2 separate regions of the Homo sapiens genome follow, and region 2 is linked to region 1. The links are contacts of gene promoters, found by promoter capture Hi-C in blood cells and fetal thymus (Javierre and others, 2016). All regions are on one chromosome and are shown on one strand. Each heading gives the region's core, a stretch centred on a gene start or on the middle of the fragment in contact. The rest is flanking DNA. Distances are from core to core; before and after follow the strand shown. Region 1 holds the start of SLC6A7 (solute carrier family 6 member 7). Region 2 overlaps PPARGC1B (PPARG coactivator 1 beta).

Region 1 (2,717 bases), core at 84-2,583:
GATGTTGGATGCAAAAATCCTTCATAATGCACACAGTAGGGCTCCATAAATGCTCCTTCTCTTCACACTCACAGCCACTCTTGGCCCCATATGGGTCAGCAGGCAGGGGGCAGAGGAGACACCTTCCTCCTGGGTCTGGAGAGCCCCTGGTTTGCCCTTTGTGGCCAGGCTCAAAGGGGAGAGAAGTTTGACAGGACCTGGGCAGGGGAAGGGGTGGACTGGAGCCTGGCCAGGCCTTTACCCAAGTCCATGCTTTGACTTAAACCCCTCCAACCTTTTTTCAAGCTCCAGAGGTGGGAGAGAGCAGAACCTTATTCTCATCTCTCCCCAAAGGCCTCCCACCGTGTCAACTGATAGTGAGCCAAACAGATGTATGGTTAATGTCTAAACTGGGACACTTGCGAGGGTGAAAAGGACACAATTTGTAATGTATATACTGATCCGCTAGTGTCTATCAGTCAGTCCCAGCAAACCAACGTGTGCCATTGCTCCAGCTCATCATTTCCCATCCTAGCCACAGGCTCACTGGACCCTCAGAACATTCTGAGGCAACAATGCATGGGCGGCTCGTGGCCCATTTTACAGATATGAAATTAGAACTTTCCAGAAGCCATACTGCTGCTGGACAGGAAACCAGTTACTAATCATCTAAGTCACAGATCACAGTGACACTGTGGCACTTGCCTGTCCCTTCTGCTCACCCAAACCTCCCCATTTTGCTTTCATCTTAAGGAAAGGAGGAGAGTTGAAGACTCTACTAGCCTAAAGGTCCATGAAGCCTGACTCTGTCCCTGGTGTCACTCATTAGCCCCGTGACTTTGAGTAAGTAACTTAACTTCCCTGTCCCTCAGCTTCCTCATCTGTAGAATAGGAGTAACGACACCTGTCTCTCCAGGTTGAGAAAATAGGACACCTAGTTCAGGACCTGGCACATTTTAGGTGCTCAATAAATACTGATAGATTGAATAATTGGACTAATGGTGGCGTGGGCAACCCACAGTCAGTGAATAAATGTTAACTGAGCACCTACTATGTGTCAGGCTCTTTGTGCTAGATGTTTTCTATGCTCCATCTTCCTGAATTGCTCACACTCCTGTAAGAGAGGAGAGATTCTTATCCCCTAAGGTCGCACAGCAAAGACGACGCAGGGGGGTGGGCTGTTAGTGTTCCTTGCCCAACTGTGGAAAGGGAGTCCCAGAGAGGGCAGGTCGCTTGCCCAAGGTCACGCAGAAAGCCGAGGGTTTCCGTCGCGAACCCCCCTCCCCACTCGCTCAGGGCTCTCCAATCCGCAGCTCTGCGTGCGGGGGCGCGCGCATCCCCCCGCCGTCCGTCCGTCAGCTGTCTGTCTGGGTGTCTATGCGGGCGCAGCAGTGCACCCTTCCCCAGCCTCGGGCGCTGCGCAGGGACAGACAAGGCATTCGCAGCGCCCTGCCCGCGCTCCACGCCCGCAGCCGCCAGACGGCAGCGCCTGCGTCCGTGCCCGCCCCAGCCGGTGCGCGGGAGCCGCGGGGGCAAAGGCGCAGTGGCCAGCGGACCATCTCTCGTGCCCTCGCTCTCTGCGCTCCGGGGCAGCTGAGCCCCGGCCACCCGCTCTCCAAGATGAAGAAGCTCCAGGGAGCTCACCTCCGCAAGGTAGGGCACGAGGGCGGGGGCGCTGGGGGTGCACCTGGAGGAGGGTTGGAGAGACCCGCCCCCAACGAGGCCCCTGGGGAAGGTCTGAGGATGCACCCAGACCAGCTTCGGGCTCTGGGGAAGGCCCGACTCAGCTGGATAACAGGGAGGGTCAGGGTCACGGTCTGCGCCCCCACCTCTGCCCCTGCCATCTGGGGTTCGGGATGTAGTATGAGGGGAGTCCTGGTTCACTGGGCCAGGCCTATGAACAGGTGTCTGCAGTCCCCGGAGGCGCGGGGTAGGGGCGGCCGGGGCCAGGCACCCACCTCTTCCCCAATTCCACCCTGCTGCTCCCCGCCAGGAGCTGATTGCCGGGTGTGGGGGGTATTGGAATACCTGAGCGTTGAGCTGGACTCATCTGAGGGGTGGGGAGTGGGAGGCGGTCATCCATACTGAAGCCGGCTCCCTGAGCCTGCGGGAAGACTCTCCTCTTTCCTGCCTGCTCCCTCCCCGCCCCCTTAGCTTGCCTGCTGAGACCCCAGGCTGCCCCTCAGCAGGGCTGAAGGGAGGCAAAGACAGGGAGGGGGCTATCGGAGGCAGGAGGATATGATCAATGAAGATGGAAGCTGGTATGGGAGAGTGGCTGTGGGCCCAGACCTCAGGCTCTCCCTACCTTGCCTTGTGGGATTGGACCTCTCAGCCAAGCTGTCAGGATATGGGGAGGGGGAATACTGGGGGACGTTTTCTGGCTTGTACCAGTCCTAACTAAGGAGTCAGATCTCCTGAATACTATTTCTGCCGCTGCCACTTGCCTGGTGACTTTGGACAAGTTCATTCTCTAACCTGAACCTCCTCTGGCTAAGCCCTAGCCTGGAGGCACCAAAACAGGCCCCACTGGGTGTGTGAGGTGTGGGGAAGAATGCTAAAGGGCTGGTAGATGTGAGAAGACTGTTCTCAGGGGCTGGTGTTATCAACCTCCCTACATACACACACATTCACACTCACACTCACTCACACACACACTCATTCATTCAAGTTCTCTGCTCTGGGGCAGCTGGGCTTGGAACCACTGTGGTGTGTCTTTTTTCTTTTTCTTGTTTTTTTTT
Region 2 (2,717 bases), core at 89-2,588, 340 kb before region 1:
GGCTCAGATCCCCAACCAGGAGCATTGGGAATCCATCACTCCTCCTTGAAACTGATTCCATTCTCTGACTTGACCCAGCTCCTGTTCAGGGTGAGGGTTCTCTGCAAGAACCAACCAGCAGTAGGTTCAATCCCACTGTGTCCTGGCTGAGTTGCCTTATCCAAGAAGACCAGCTCCCCGGGACAGATCTAAGCCATAGTTTCTAGTGGGGACAGTAAGGAATTAAACCCCCAACTTGGCTAGGTAACGATGTCAAATCTCACATTAACCTTGTCTTTGTCCCCACTGGATAGCTGTTAATCCGAATGTTGTGACCATTTGGCTGTTTCTCTCTTGTTCTCAGACAATACTAGCAATACACTTTTTTTTTTTTTTTTTAAAGAAAAACAGCTTAGGAGCTTTTCACACATTTCTTTCAAATGATTGTAAAACATATGGGGCAACAGGAGGCATTGATCGCGCTGCATATGTTTAGGGCAGCTTTTGTTTTTTGTTTCTTTAATGGTATAGCAGCAGTGACTGAGCCTTCGTGATTCCTGGGGACAGCTTTTCAGATACTCTGTTTCATCAGTATGCTTTGCACATCCGGAAGGAGTACAAAAATCCAACTGCCCAAATTTGGGGCTTGGAAAATAGGTTTTATAGGTGGTCGGTCCCTGGGCTGTGCAACAACTCCTCAAAGAGGGGTTTATATAACTAGAACCCCCCTGGGCTGTATTTTTGGTCAAAGGAGTCTCCAAGGCGGCTTACAAAAGCTTCCTTTTTCACTTGACCACCCTTGCTCATTGGTTACTTGTGAAGGGAATTGGTCAGTTTCCACCTCAGCACTTTGCCTTATCAACATGCGGTCGCCATCTAGTGGCCAAAGGTTGTCTCCACCAGCTACCCAGATGGAAGGCAAATAAATCCTTTCGGCCACCCTGCTGTCCATCGTGAACTTTGGGAATGAAATATAATGGCCTGAACGAACTGCCTTTGTGTTCAGAGATCAGTGCAACACTAGGGTCAGAAGACTCCAGAAGCAGCCACTTAGTAGACTCTCACGCAGAACTGAGAAATGCACTAGCTGTCCTGTGGGCAGAAGAGACAGGAGTGGACCAGGAGAGGTCCAGGTGCCCGGGAAGGGTTTACTGTAACTGCAATACTGGCAGCCCAGCTGCTGACCTTGTTAAGTAAACCTTTGCTGGGTGGTCCGAATTCTGCCCTCAAGGCAAGATAAGAAGTTGGGTGTAAGGATTTTGTGGGGGGCCTGGCCATGATCTTTGATATGATCCCCGAATAGCCAAATAGTTTTTTTTGTTCAATTTTTTGTTTCTGTATTTTGTATTTTTAAAATCTTGTCAAATGTTTTTGTGTTAGGAATAAAAAGTCATAAACTATTCCCAACTTTGTTTCTTGAGGGATGTTCTGATTCCAATGGAAACAGGTGGGAAATCTCAAGGGGAGCGTGGACAAGGTGGTATGTGCAGCAGGGGAATAGACTGCTTGGATTTCCAAATGGTTTCTGGGGAAGATGACCATCCAGAAGTCCAGCTTAGTGCAGTCTGCTCTGGAATTCACACCCACCCCCTCGCCTCCTTGTGCCATGTTGTTAGCATTGGCTTGGAGCATCTGCTTCTTCCAGAGGCAGCTGCTAATGTTGAAACCAACACGAGCCCTCTCCCCAACCCCAGGTTTCTAAAGAAGGTGTCTGTAGCCAGCCTTAATCAACTGGGCAAGGTGGTCCCTATGGTCCTTTCCAGCATTTCCAAATCTTGGACTCAAATTATTTTCTCTTGGTGTGACCACACAGCCTAGAGAATTCTGAGCAATAGGAGCCAGGGCTTTCCCTGACTCTGCGACAGGGTCAAACCAAGGAATGGCTAAACCTGTGAGGTTTTGTCATCCCCGGGGGTACTACTGTAGGGGGCATTATTTATTAGGAAGCTTAACAAGGTAACTACGGCCTGAGTGCGTGAGTGTAAGGCTGTGTTTGTGGTGGGGGTGTGTGTGTGTGTATCTGTGCACACATACACACGTCTGTGCCTGTGTGTGTGTGTTTGTGTGTGTGTGTGTGTGTGGAATTACATTGATGCATTTATTGAGAAAGGTGCAAGAATTTCACCTACACAGAGGGACACATCTGCTTTGTTATTTATAATAGAAAGCTAAATTTTAATTTTTTAAAGGACACTGCTAATGATTGAGAATCAAGTTTTTAGTTTTGCTATTTTTTTTAATTGGTAGAGGATTTTTATATATTTTTTCCATTTTGTTGGGTTGTGTCCTTATTTATATAAATACTTTATCCGTAAGAGGCAAGGAGGAAACCTTCTTTGCTTTTACATATTGTGGTTGTCATCGTCCCTATTTTATTTCTGGTGTGATTTCTCTGTCTTACCTTCTAAATGAGAAAATGTTTTCTTGTATTTGTACATTGTCAGATTCTATAGTTTCCTAGATAATTTAACCAAATTGCTCTATGTATTATTATTCTGTGAGTATAAAGTTCTATTTTAATGTCTGTAAATACTTCAGAACTGGCTTCTTTTCTCAAACTCCCACTGTGGGGTTATTGTTTACATCACAGAAACTGTAGAATCTCTATGCTCATGTACTGTAAATAGTGAAGTGATCTGCTTATAAATAAACTTAACAAATACACTATGGAGATTAAAAACAAAATACCACCCACAGCTTTGCCCATGTGTGTTTTTCCTTGTTGGTCCTGGGAGCTC

The links. Contacts are between HindIII fragments. The CHiCAGO score rates a contact against its expected background, and 5 or more counts as called.
Region 2: a contact is called between a fragment that was not itself captured here and the fragment with the promoter of SLC6A7 in region 1, in 1 of 17 cell types (endothelial precursors). The highest score is 5.4, in endothelial precursors.

The regions. Positions count from the first base shown.
Region 1 is chr5:150,188,729-150,191,445 of GRCh38, forward strand. It overlaps SLC6A7 (solute carrier family 6 member 7), which reads left to right and starts at 1,334. Exons shown (of 14, transcript NM_014228.5): 1 at 1,334-1,632. The coding sequence starts at 1,600. The HindIII fragment of the contact is 12,060 bases long and covers 1-2,717 here.
Region 2 is chr5:149,852,348-149,855,064 of GRCh38, forward strand. PPARGC1B (PPARG coactivator 1 beta) reads left to right here. Exons shown (of 12, transcript NM_133263.4): 12 at 1-2,675. Among named protein-coding and RNA genes, the nearest start is that of PDE6A, 91 kb to the right of the region's middle. The HindIII fragment of the contact is 1,171 bases long and covers 754-1,924 here.